3 separate regions of the Homo sapiens genome follow, and all the other regions are linked to region 1. Evidence: promoter capture Hi-C in 16 types of primary human blood cells and fetal thymus (Javierre and others, 2016). All regions are on one chromosome and are shown on one strand. The core of a region is centred on a gene start or on the middle of the fragment in contact, and the rest is flanking DNA. Distances in the headings are between cores, read along the strand shown. Region 1 holds the start of CDH24 (cadherin 24). Region 2 overlaps AJUBA (ajuba LIM protein). Region 3 overlaps HAUS4 (HAUS augmin like complex subunit 4).

Region 1 (3,931 bases), core at 633-3,132:
CCGGGACCCTGCCCAGGCCCGGGCTGGGGCTGCCAGACGCCCCATGCAGCCCCAGCCACCCAGCCAGGCCAGCAGGAGCCTCACCAGGCCCCACATGTTTGGACTCCAGCCAGGGCTCTGTTCACTGGCCCTGGGTGCTGAGGCTGGGCCAGGCCACGTGGCCCATGAGCTGGCTGGGGTGGAGGGGCAGATGCGTTGAGGCTACCCCATGGATCCACACCTGCAGGACAAGCAGCTGCTCAGGCTCAAGGAAACCCCTAGCCCTCCTCCCCCGCAAAATTAGATGCTGAAGACCAGACCTCCAAGGAACCAGACACTCCACTGCCCAGAACTCAGACTAAGACAGAGAGCAGAGAGGCTGATCCTTCCTCCACCCAGGCTCTGCATGTATTCACCTCCAGCCCTCCAAGCTGATAAATCTCTGGTCAGTCAACTCTGAGTAGAGAACTGGGGAGGAACACAGGAGAGGGGATGCTGGGAGGGCTTGGAATCCCAAATCTGGTCTCTGTCCTCCCAGGTTGGGCACGTAGCCAGGTATTGGAGGAGGCGGGGCTACCAGAGAAAGGGCTTAAAATTACGGAGTTGGGATTCATGGAGGTGTGGCCTTAAGGTGTCTAGGGTCAGCATGAGATGACAAGGAGTGCAGCCTCAGGCAGGGCTGAGAGTCTGTGAAAGTCCCTCCCCACAAGGGGGAGCCCCACTCTCCAGGCCCTGTCTCCAGCCCACGCTGCCAGTGCAGTCCTTGAAGGGGGACTGGGCTCGTGAGACAGGAGTTGGGAGCCAGAGCTGAAGGAAGAGGATACAGGGTGGGGGACAGGGGGAGGTGACCGGGGAGAGAGGTCCACCCAGAGGCTAGAGACAGATAATGACTGACGGCTAGACTGACTCAGGGACTGTCCGGCAGAGAAATGACTGGATGAGAGACAGAAACAGAACAGTGGCAAGAGACAGAATGAGAGAGACCAGGGCAGCAGCCTGGGTGTCTGAAGGCAGAGAGGAGTCCTAGGGGCCAGGCTTGGAAACGGGTCACCGGGGGCAGTTCCGGGCAGGCAGGGGCAGACCTCAGCTTCGGGGGTGTCAAGCCAGGCCTCGGGAACTTAATTCTGGGAGAAGGAGCAGACAGGAGGGGTGGAGGCAGGGAGGGGCCACGGGAAGGGAGCTAGAGAGGAGACCCTTCCCACTGCTCTCCTTTCTCCTAGGGGCGGGGGGGAGGACCCCTCAGGTAGCTGTGGCTTCTGCCCCTCCTCCCTCAGAGCAGACACACACCTGACAGTCCCTTTGCTCCCGAGGGAAGGGGGAAACCGGAGGAAGGCTGGGGACCAGAGAGAAGGCGGGATGAGGAGGCGAGAAGGAAGGGGATAGAGGAGTGGGAAACAGGATAGCAGGAAGGGGAGAGGAGAGGGAGGGAAAGGAGAGCAAGAAAGAGAAAAGAGAAAGGCAGGAAAGGGGAGAAAGGTAGAGAAAGAAAAAGGCAAAGAGGGAGAGGAGATGGAAAAAGGACAAGAGGGAGAGGGAAGGGTTGGGGAGACAGAGGGAAGGGATAAGGAAGGCAAACAGGCAGAGAAGGAAGGGTGAAGAGAAATCGAGAGAAGAAAGAGGGAGAGAGGTGCGAGGGGAGAAGGGAAAGAGGCAGAGCGCGGGAGAAGGGAGCCGGCAGCGGGCTCCCAGCCACGGAGCGCACCCCTCCGAAGACCCCCGCAGGCTGCGGGCCCCCTCCTACCCCTCCGCGGATTCCCGACCCCTGCTCCGGGGCAGGCGCCCTTACCTGGCACTGCCGAGGGGCCCAGGCCGGCGGGAAGCGCCCCCGCCCGCCCCCGTCGCCGGGTCCCGGGGGCACAGCCCCGAGCCGATTGGAGCGGGCGCCGCGGCTCCGCTGCAGGTCTGAGCGGCCCCGGCGAGAACAAGGGAGCGAGACGGAGGGGGCGGGGGAAGAAGACTCCGCCTGCGGAGGAGCGAGGCGGCTCCGCGCCGCGCGGGAGAGGAGAGCCCAGCCTCCGACCCTCCCCGGCCAGCCGGGCCCGCGCGGCGGGGGCGGGGGCGGAGGCGGCGCCGCGCGTCCGCCCCCTCGGCGCTCCTGGGCTGCGGGGCGCATACAGATGCGGCGCCCCTCCCGGACCGGGCCCGCAGCGCCCGGCAGGGCACTCGGGCGGGAGGACGTCCAGGCCACGGCGCCAGGCCATTTCCGAAGAGCTGGCGGGGCGGGTGCACCCGGGAGCGCGAAGCTGCCAGTCCCCGCCCGCAGCGGAAAACGGGCGAGCGCGCGGTGAGGTGGGGAATTCGGAGCCCACTGCGGAGAGACCCGGCTCCGGGCTCCCGGTTCCCGGCTGGCTTTTGGGACTGGTGTGGATGGAATCCCAGCTGCAAGGCGGCGGCGTTTTGAGAGCCCATGCAAAGCACGGTAGCAGGTCAGCTGGGGGACACTTAAGGACGGCAGAAGGGTCCAGAGAGTCCGAGGCCCGGGCCCAGGGAGCGGGTCGGGAACAGAGGCACGACATCGGCGGGAGGTCGGAGGCGGGCAGTGGAACCCTTCTTGGGAAGCTCGGTTACAGGGGCCAACAGAGCGAGGAGCTGCCGCCCCCTGGTGGTAGTTGTGGGAGGCACCAAGGTGGCAGGCAGGTGACCAAACCCCTAATTTAACCGTGCACAGGACCAGGAACCAGAAGAGGACCCACCCTCCTAGCCCTGCTGGGGTGCCGCCACGGACACAGGTTGCTCCATGCCTTCCCGAATGAGGAAGGTCCACAGCTTTGGGTTGGTCAGGGCCAAGGCAGGGGATAAAAGACGTGGGAAGTTCAATAAGCAGGAAGCAGTCAGCCTAAAGGAACACATGGAATGAGAGCAACTCCTACTCCAGATATCCTCAGATGTCCACGCTCAGATATCCACAGTGGCTTCTTAACCTGCCCAAAGAAAGCCACTCACACAGTTTAAAACTAAGTCAGATTTTTATTTTTTTTTCCATAGACCACATCATTTAATAATAAAAAAAATAAAAATAAAAATTGAACAAAAGGAAAAGGTGGATATAAAGTGGAACCTGTGGGAAAGAGGCAAGGGCTGCAGGACAGAAGAGACTGGGAACTGCAGGGGCCCTGGGACTCAGGAGGAGATGCTGATTCAGCTCATAGGTGACCCAGTCCTGGCCCCGGCTGTTCCCAAGAGAAGGCTGTAAGTACCCAGGGAGGTGGTAAGCAGGATGGAGGAAAAATCAGAGGACTGGGGCACCTGGCTGTTCCCCATCTCTGGCCAACCACCTCCTTGCCTAACCTAGCTCTTGCCTCTCAGACTTAATGGGAAATGAGAGGGAGGGTCGGGCTAAGTCCCAAGAGATAGGTTAAGGGGGTGTGTTTGGGGGGAAAAGGATGGCCACTTTTCCATTTGGTATGTATGTAGGGATAGGTGATGTGAAAGACCCTTGGCTCCAGGGTGGTGGAGACTGTGCCTATCCCTCTGTGGCCATAACCCCCTGGGGCCGAGTGGCTGGTACCTGCAGCTCTAGTGTTTTCCCAGCTAGCGGCGCCCACCCCGGTCCCGCACAGGTGTGCTCCGACTCCGGCTTCTGCTGTGGCGCTTGGTGTCCCTGCGATCCCTTTCCCTGCCTCGTTCTCGGTCCCTTTCCCTATCCCGATCTCGGTCCCCCCTGTCCCGCTCCCTTTCTCTCTCTCTCTCCCTGTCCCTCTCCCGACTGTGCTCCCGACGTTTCTCTCGCTCCAGCTGTCGGTTCCGTTCCCGCTCGGCTTCCTTCTCCCGCTCCTTTTGCTCTTCTTCTTCTTGCTCCTTTCGCCGCTTCTCCCGCTCCTTGGCCCGTTCGGCCCGCTCTGCCTCTTTCTGAACGATCTGTAGCCAGGTAGGAAAGGCAGAGAATAGGCAGCTCAGTCCTGGTCACAGCCTCCATTTGTGCCTGGACCCTGCCTCCTAGCTCAGGGTCAGC
Region 2 (4,403 bases), core at 104-2,603, 86 kb before region 1:
AAGTGCTGGGATTACAGGGGTGAGCCACTGTGCCTGGGCAAGACTCCCAACTCTTAAAAAAAAAAAAAAAAAAAAGAGGCAGGGCTCAGTGGCTGACAACTGTAATCCCAGCACTTTGGGAGGCCAAGGCAGGCGGATTACCTGAGGTCAGGAGTTTGAGATCACCCTGGCCAACATGGCAAAACCCTGTCTCTACTAAAAATACAAAAATTAGCCAGGTGTGGTGGCGCCGGCCTATAATCCCAGCTACTCAGGAGGCTGAGGCAGGAGAATCACTTGAACCCAGGAGACGGAGGTTGCAGTGAGCTGAGATTGCACCATTGCACTTCAGCCTGGGCAAGAGAGCGAGATTCTGTCAAAAAAAAAAACCCTGAGAGCCGGGCACAGTGGCTCATGCCTGTAATCCCAGCACTTTGGGAGGCCGAGACAGGCAGATCACAAGGTCAGGAGATCGAGACCAGCCTGGCTAACACAGTGAAACCCCGTCTCTACTAAAAATACAAAAATTAGCCGGGTGTGGTGGCGGGCGCCTGTAGTCCCAGCTACTTGGGAGGCTGAGGCAGGAGAATGGTGTGAATCCGGGAGGCGGAGCTTGCAGTGAGCCGAGATAGCGCCACTGCACTCCAGCCTGGGCGACAGAGTGAGACTCTGTCTCAAAAAAAAAAAAAAAAAAAAAAATATCCCTGAGGGGATGGATGTAAAGTTACACAAGCTTGTCTGGATTTCCCATCATAGGGCCTTTGTATTCACTTATTTAATAATAGTTCAGAAGAAGCTATCTCAGCTGTACAAGAAGTAATTCAGTTTCAGAACATTTCTCACTCCAACAAGGTGCATTTTCCCCTCTGGCGCTCAGTTGTATAAATCTGACCTCTTTCCCTCTCACTCAGAGATCTCTTTTATGTATTTCCCAGGTTGGCTGGCATAGTCACCTTAGAATAGCCCCCAAATGTGGAAATTCTGTTGTCAGGAGTCATCATTTCCAGTAAGAAACTCACTGAGTGACAGAAAATGAAGACTAAAGATCAAAGATTACTAAATTAATTTGCCTAAAACCAATTCACCTAAAACCAATTAGTCTAAAATAAATATTTATCAAATCTGCAGCATTTCAAAAGGATTTAGCAGATTCACCCTTTTAGTTATTACTGTTGTCTGTATAACTTTTCATTGTAAGTCAACTGAATATGCCTCATGCCTATTCATTTGTTTAAGATATACTGGCCTTTTTAACAGTAGGAATGTAGAAGTTAGACCAAAGCATCAAAATCACATTGAACTCCATTATATTTTTCAAGGCATTTAATTTGTAAAGGAATATTGGATTAAGAAACAAAAAAATGATACACAAAATGTCTGTACCAATTGTATTTATTGCTAGAAACTTTAAACTTTTTAAAAAAGTTTTTGAATGGTAGATAACATAGAAAAAGACATCCATAAAGGTAGGAAGCAATCTCATCATTTACAAAGTGCTGCAAATTTGATAAATTTATGTTGCTGATAATAGCTCAGAAGTACTCTTGGATGAATAGATATAAATCCTTGAAATATCCAAAGCATGACAAAAAAGAATAGGACACCTAAATGGATATAAACACACCAAAATAGGAATTGAGCTTTTGGCAAATTAGTCATTAAGTCATTAACTTTAAGCAAACAAGTTTTCAGTAAATTGGTTTTAAGAGATCTAGCTTTAGGTGAACTAGTTTCAAGCAAACTGACTAGTATCAAATCAGTGTTTTGCTCCCTCCAGTTCCCCCCAACTCTAGTTTTGGGATTGTGATGGATGCAATCCGGGACCCCTCTGAGAGGTGGCAAGTGAGCTTCTACTAGGAAACCAAGTGTACAAGTGACCTGAGAAGAGAGTAAGAAAGAGTGAGAGAGAGACAGAGAGACAAGAGAGAGAGTGTGTGTGTGCATGAACACACCCACACATGCATACACTGGGCTATATGGCTCAGTGCACCTAAACTTGGGAATGTGGCTAAGCTGAAGCTTCCTAGACATCCCCCCAACAAGCTCCACACCCACAGAGATCTGCTCATTACCTCCCCCAGCCAAGGAGAAGAGCAACCACGTACAATCACCTACCTAGCCTCCCCAGACCCATGTAAGTTCCTGAGAAACAGGGAATACAGGCAGCAACCCCACTCAGAGCTGGTCCCCATTCTCAGACAGATAAGGAGCTCTCCTAGTCCTTAGAAGAAGGCCAAGAAATAACTCATTAATGAGGTCCAGAGTTTCTACCTCTTCATCCAGATATAGGTGCGGGACCCCATATCTGACACCATGTGTCACAAAAAGTGAGGAGCTTAAATTTGGTTGCCTAGCAGGAACTCACCACCCTAGACTTGCTACCTCTCAGGGACATCCCACACTGCATCAACCACAACCCCAAAACTCTGGGGTTTGGGGGAGCTGGAGGGAGAATTACACTTTGATTTGGTTCTAGTCAGTTTAGCTGAAACTAATTGATTTAAAGCTAGGTCCTCTACTCCTGGAATCCAGGACCAGAACATTGCGTGACTCATGCATAATCATACACTAGGCCAGACACAGTGGCTTACGCCTATAATCCCAGCACTTTGGGAGGCCAAGGTGGGAGGATCATTCGAGCCCAGGAGTTCAAGACTAGCCTGGGCAACATGGTGAGATCCCATCTCTAAAACAAACAAAATATATATACTGAAGATACAGAATCAGATGTTCAGAAAGTCCTGGAACCCTCCTGTGTGTGCCTAAGCTCAGACTGCACACATGGGAAAAAGGCCAGTCGCCCCCACCCTGGTAAATATAAGGTTTCTCTTCCACAATCCATTTGGAATATCATGATCTTTGGGTCTCCGGCCCTTGGGGTCCTCCCCAGAGGACTCTTCTGCCAGGCCTGCAGAGTGCATTCTTTGCCTTGGCTGGCCTCAGAGGGGCCCACTGGCCACAGCAGTTTGTCTGCAGGGTGACAGCAGCAGCAGTGATTGCAGCTCAGATATAGTTGGCAGGGGGTTGTCGGGCATTGAGCCGCTGCATGTGGCAACCATGGCAGAGCAAGTGCCCATCCAGAGGGAAACAGCAGCAGCCTTCCTCATCACTCAGCTGCATCCGGCAGTCCTAGGGAAGAAGGCACCTAGTTCACCTCAGCCTAGGCACCTTGGACACTGAGGGTATCTTAGGAGTCTGCCCTGCTCAACACCTGACTCCTAATAACTGGAAGAAAGGGATGGGGTGGGAAGGGAAGGATGGAAGGGATGGAAGAGCAATCTGAGAAAATACTAATACCTCAGCTGGACACCAGGTGTCACTGCTGCAGCAGAAATAATGACACAAGCCTGTCTTTCAAGAAGTTTGACCAGAGTCCCTAGTCTTAGAAAGTCCTGACTCTGGGAGAGTCAGATTCAGAAAGGACTAAGCTACTTGGACCAGAGAGAGTGGCTGGAGGACAAAAAAGAGACTGAAGATAGGTCACAATATCTTTCTGGTTTCCCATGCCCTACACCTCTCCCATAGATGTCTGGTTGTTGCAGGACTTGACTCCTCCCCTCTCCCCATTTCCACTTCTTCTCCAGCACCGCTGAACCCCAACACTCACCTCACAGTGGTAGCACTCAAAGTGATAATCCCGGTCCATGGATATCACCCTCACGATGTCCTCACAGCCCTGAAACATGCAGACCCCCATGGAGATGAGAGCAGCATGTTGCCTCACCTCCACCTTTCCCTCATATACAACCCTTCCCACCCCATGGGAAGATCATACAAATGCCCCCAGAGTCTCTCTGCAATCACCTGTAGTTTTAAGATGCTTCTGCAAATCCTACCAGAACTCTCATCTCCTTCACTGGGCTGCACCCATGGAGCACACTCCCTCTGTACAACAGCCCTGGCCTTACCTGCGTCTCTCAGTTGTGCAGGAAGCAAAGGGAAGGGAAGGGGACAGGAGGCCTAAATAAAGTAGGCTAGGCTGGGAACAAGGGGATCCAATAAGATCTGGTCCTCACTGGCTTTTGGTTTCTCTCCATAGGCACATCCCCTACACTCAGCTTAAATCATTTCTGACCCCTTCCTACCAGTGCTGAGGATTCTTCCCACCTTTTTCCAGCCCCTACATCTGCAGTCTGGTGACCTCGACCTCAAAGAAAGTCTCCTCCTCTGGACTGGGATAGAAGAGATGGAGCCTGGGCCCAGTTAGGCTTTCAGACATGTCCAGGCCCGGATATTAGGGTCAGGGTGGTGACCCCAAGAGGCAGAGTCACACGGGAATCTTCACAGAGTACATTCCTTGGCACTACCACTTCTGGCAGGAGGCCAGGCAGCATGTCCCTATCCCCTCCCCAAAGGCAGTGGCACTGGCTGCCCTGAAGGAGAACCCAGACATACTGACCTCAGAGGGGAGGATGGGTTGGCCA
Region 3 (4,572 bases), core at 1,928-4,427, 110 kb before region 1:
TTTAAGGAGACCAAGTGTGGTAGCTCATGCCTGTAATCCCAGCACTTTGGGAGGCCAAGGCGGGCAGATCACCTGAGGTCAGGAGTTTGAGACCATCCTGGCCAACATGGTGAAAACCTGTCTCTACTAAAAATACAAAAAAATTAGCTGGGCAGGGTGGCAGGCGCCTGTAATCCCAGCTACTTGGGAGGCTGAGGCAGGAGAATTGCTTGAACCTCGGAGGCGAAGGTTGCAGTGAGCTGAGATCACGCCATTGCACTCCAGCCTGGGCGACAAGAATGAAACTCCGTCTCAAAAAAAAAAAAAAAAGAAATGGTTTAGGGAGGAAAGTTCAGACTCAGGTGTTAAGCTTTATTATTTTCGTAAAAATGATACACATTCAGGGCCAGGCACAGTGGCTCACGCCTGTAATCCCAGCACTTTGGGAGGCCAAGGTGGGTAGATCATGAGGTCAGGAGACTGAGACCATCCTGGCTAACACGGTGAAACCCCGTCTCTACTAAAAATACAAAAAATTAGCCAGGCGTGGTGGCGGGCACCTGTAGTCCCAGCTACTCGGGAGGCTGAGGCAGGAGAATGGCGTGAACCTAGGAGGTGGAGTTTGCAGTGAGGTGAGACTGCGCCACTGCACTCCAGCCTGGGGGACAGAGCGAGACTTCGTCTCAAAAAAAAAAAAAAAAAAAAAAGAGATACACATTCATTCAGGGTGGTCAGACTCAAATAAGAAAATCATTACACAGAAGCAAGTAAAAGCTGAAATATGAATACTACGTCTAGAAACACATTATTATAAACAGCTTGACATAAATGGTATTATACCCTCCAAGCTTATACAGAGAGTATAAGGTGTTCTATGAGTCTGAACTTTCCTCCCTAAACCATTCTGAACCTCCTGAGAGAACTCATCCTTCCCTGCAGCAGGAGGACACTCCCACTCAGTATCTTGCTGAATAAAAAGAGTCCTTACAAAGGTCCTTGTTTTGGCCGGGTGTGGTGGCTCACACCTGTAATCCCAGCACTTTGGGATGCCGAGGCAGGCGGATCACCTGAGGTTGGGAGTTCCAGACCAGCCTAATCAACATGGAGAAACCCCATCTCTACTAAAAATACAAAATTAGCCGAGCGGGGTGGCGCATGCCTGTAATCCCAGCTACTCGGGAGGCTGAGGCAGGAGAATCACTTGAATCTAGGAGGAGGAGCTTGCGGTGAACAGAAATGGCGCCATTGCACTCTAGCCTGGGCAACAGGAGCAAAACGCCATCTCAAAAAAAAAAAAAAACAAAAAAACAAAAAGTCCTTGTTTTTATTCTACCAGCAACAAAACAAATAAGCATCTCTGATGGTTCTAAACCTCTGTCCCAAATCTAAAATCAAAATATATTATTCTCAAAAGAGCAGACCAGGAACCCTGAAGTCCAGCTGTGAGCAGAACAGACAGCTAGCACTCACCTGAATTGGGATCATAGTAGCAGAGCAGAGTGAAACATTTCTTTTTGAGCTGCTCCTCTACTTCTTGCTGTAGCCGAGCCCTCATCCACACAAAATCCTACAGTCATAGAAGTAAAGGCAGAAATGCGAATAGACTGTAAAAACTAGGACGTCTCAGCCAATGAATACATGATGATAACCTCAATAATAGCCAAAGAAAATGCATCAAGAGACATCAGAGAGACTCATTTTTCACCTATCAAATTAGCGAAGAATAAAATGACTGTCAAGACCCCATGTTGGTGAGAACATGGGGGATCCAGGAGCCCTGAAAATACCTTTCTGGATAGCAGTTTGGCATTAGGTACCAATATTCTGTATGAGTATGCACTGACTCAGGAATCCCACTTTTAGCACCAGCATTACAGAAATAATCATACAAAGGTAAAGACACATATGAACCAGCATGTTCATCTCCCTGTGGTTTCTAACAGCAAAAATGTGGAAACAACCTTAATATCCACCAATAAGGTTAAGCAAATTATTCTACATCCATATAATAGAATCCTAGCAGAGATTTAAACTGATGACATAACACTAAGCACTATGTGCCTAGATACTTTGCTAACAGTGCTATAGAAGCTATCATCTTATTTACATTTATGTATTGACTTGAAAAGAAATCCAAAATATATTACATGAAAATAGACTGTACTTTTCTTTTTTTGAGACAGGGTCTCACTCTGTGCCCAGGCTGGAGTACAGTGGCATGATCACAGCTCACTACAGCCTTGACCTCCCACCCTCAAGTCATCCTCCTGCCTCTGTCTCCCGAGTAGCTGGGACTACAGGTGTGCACCACCAAACCTGGCTTTTGTTTTGTTTTTTTTTTGGTAGAGACGAGGTCTCACTATGTTGCCCAGGCTGGTCTTGAACTCCTGAACTCAAGTGATCCTCCCACCTCAGCCTCCCAAAGTGCTACGATTATAGGCGGAAGTCACTACACTCGGCCTTATACTCTCTATATAAGCATGAAGGGTATAATACCATTTATGTCAAGCTGTTTATAATAATATTGTGCTTCTAGATGCAGTATTTCAGCTTTTACTTGCTCCTGTGTAACGTTTTTCTTATTTGAGTCTGACCACCCTGAATGTGTATCATTTTTACAAAAACAATAAAGCTTGACAAAAAAAACATTTTAAAGATATGGGAGAAATTAAACCATTTCATTTATTTGGTTCCAATATCTCCCCGCCAACCTCTGAGAGTGGCATGAGTTCCAGAAGGTCCGCTTTCTCCAGCCCCAGCAGTGGAGGTATCTCCCTCTCCTGGCTAGGACCTAAGAGCCGCATCAGTTCAGTTACAAGCAGCCGCTGTTCAAGGGTCTCATGAAACTGAGAGAGAGAGAATAAAAAACAAAAAGAGGCAACTATAAAACTTCTCCCACTCCACCTCTTCCATCCTTATGAACCAGTTTTTCACATATTTTCAAAGTCCTCAAATATATCATCCCCCCTCAGATAACTCAGCTGCGAGTGACTTCTGTCAATGTTTCTATTACAAACTCTGATAACACATCCACTCCTTCCCCATAACTACAGTCCATTTCTCTTTTGACAAACCATTTCTCAAAGCTCCTACTTCCCCTAGATCACATCATCAGACAAAGCCACAGTTGGCCTGGTCATTCCTGTAACTGGTAACCAACCCCACCTCATTTCTTTCACCTCACTTTTTTTTGAGACTGAGTTTCGCTCTGTCACCCAGGCTGGAGTGCTGTGGCGCAATCTCGGCTCACTGCAATCTCCGCCTCCCAGGTTCAAGCGATTCTGCTGCCTCAGCCTCCCGAGTAGCTGGGATTACAGGCGTGTGCCACTGCACCTGGTTAATTTTTGTATTTTTAGTAGAGACGGGGTCTTACCATGTTGGCCAGGCTGGTCTCAAACTCTTGACCTCAAGTGATCAGCCTGCCTGGGGCTCCCAAAGTGCTGGGATTACAGGTGTTAGCCACCACGCCCAGCCTTTGCCTCACCTTTTTGTCCTCAGAAGTTACATTTGTGTCTTGTATCTTCACATAGTAGTCCACAAGCAACTCTTGAATGACTCTGTGTAAAATCTCAGACCTCAACCATGTTGTCTTATGCAGTCGAACTTCCTTCCATGCCTAGAAATCCAAAAAATCTCAGGTAGGAACCTCTCTCTCAGGATTTTCCCTTCTTCTTATCTCTTCTCCCAAAGCCCTTACCTGAGCCTGCTCCTTTGCTAGGGTGAGGCTTAAGCCACTCTCATCCACATGCTGTGAGAGATTCAGGAGAAGCTTGCTGAAGTATGGGTTCTGTAACAGGTCCTCTTTACTCAGGTTACAAGGAGGAAGTTGTTTGCTGCACACTTAACATCATGTCCCCACAGGTACAAAAAAACAAAAAAGGTGTGGACTCTTACTTTACATAACTGAGCATAACTTAATACTTCCAAAAAACCCCTAGGATTTTTATAGGAAAGATTGCTAAATCTAATGAGATTTTTTAAAAATCCACAAATAAACAAGGGTAATATTCAAGGTAACAAGCATTTATATTATATACAAGGATATTAAGGGGGAATAAGTAATAAACTAAGATCTTAGGAAACGGAAATGCAGTTGGTACATATTAGACAAATAGAATAAAAATTAAGGGACCGTTAGTAGGAATCACAATACACAAAATGCCTCATTCATCCAAAATTAATAGAGTTCTTGAAGTAGGGGGAAAGAAACACAACACGTGAAGTTCCAACTTTGGATGTGATATGTAGTCGCATAAACAAGACTAACAGAATACACTTAGAGTAAGTTAAACGTTCAACTAACCAATTTTTTTTTTTTCTTTTTGAGACAGGGTCTCACTCTGTCACCCAGGCTGGAGTGCAGTGGCACAATCACAGCTCACTGCAGCCTTAACCTCCCCAGATCAAGCGATCCTTCCACCTCCTGAGGAGCTGAGACTACAAGGCAAACCACGATGACTGGCTAATTTTTTTTTTACAGACAGGGTCTCACTACATTGCCCAGGCTGGTCTTGAACTCTTGGGCTCAAGTGATCCTCCCACCTTGGCATCTCAAAGTGCTGGGATTACAGGTGTGAGTCACCACAGCTGGCC

What was found. The method cuts DNA at HindIII sites, captures the fragments that hold promoters and counts their contacts. A CHiCAGO score of 5 or more calls a contact.
Region 2: a fragment that was not itself captured here is called in contact with the fragment with the promoter of CDH24 in region 1 in 16 of 17 cell types (erythroblasts, activated CD4 T cells, M1 macrophages and 13 more); the score reaches 13.7 in erythroblasts.
Region 3: a contact is called between a fragment that was not itself captured here and the fragment with the promoter of CDH24 in region 1, in 2 of 17 cell types (erythroblasts and M0 macrophages). The highest score is 7.4, in erythroblasts.

Annotation. Positions count from the first base shown.
Region 1 is chr14:23,055,638-23,059,568 of GRCh38, forward strand. CDH24 (cadherin 24) reads right to left here and starts at 1,883. Exons shown (of 13, transcript NM_144985.4): 1 at 1,766-1,883; 2 at 1-220. The coding sequence starts at 96. It overlaps ACIN1 (apoptotic chromatin condensation inducer 1), which reads right to left. Exons shown (of 19, transcript NM_001386863.1): 19 at 2,927-3,837. The coding sequence ends at 3,511. LOC105370705 (collagen alpha-2(I) chain-like) reads left to right here and starts at 2,023. Exons shown (of 2, transcript NR_169511.1): 1 at 2,023-2,405; 2 at 2,648-3,012. RefSeq lists silencers at 1,763-1,882, 1,963-2,112. The HindIII fragment of the contact is 16,339 bases long and covers 1-3,931 here.
Region 2 is chr14:22,970,461-22,974,863 of GRCh38, forward strand. AJUBA (ajuba LIM protein) reads right to left here. Exons shown (of 8, transcript NM_032876.6): 6 at 4,379-4,403; 7 at 3,587-3,655; 8 at 717-3,108. The coding sequence ends at 2,983. Among named protein-coding and RNA genes, the nearest start is that of AJUBA, 9.9 kb to the right of the region's middle. The HindIII fragment of the contact is 1,286 bases long and covers 711-1,996 here.
Region 3 is chr14:22,948,865-22,953,436 of GRCh38, forward strand. HAUS4 (HAUS augmin like complex subunit 4) reads right to left here. Exons shown (of 10, transcript NM_001166269.2): 3 at 3,677-3,819; 4 at 3,464-3,595; 5 at 2,691-2,825; 6 at 1,450-1,546. All of the region lies in intron 2 of PRMT5-DT (PRMT5 divergent transcript), which reads left to right. Among named protein-coding and RNA genes, the nearest start is that of MIR4707, 5.9 kb to the right of the region's middle. The HindIII fragment of the contact is 1,137 bases long and covers 2,610-3,746 here.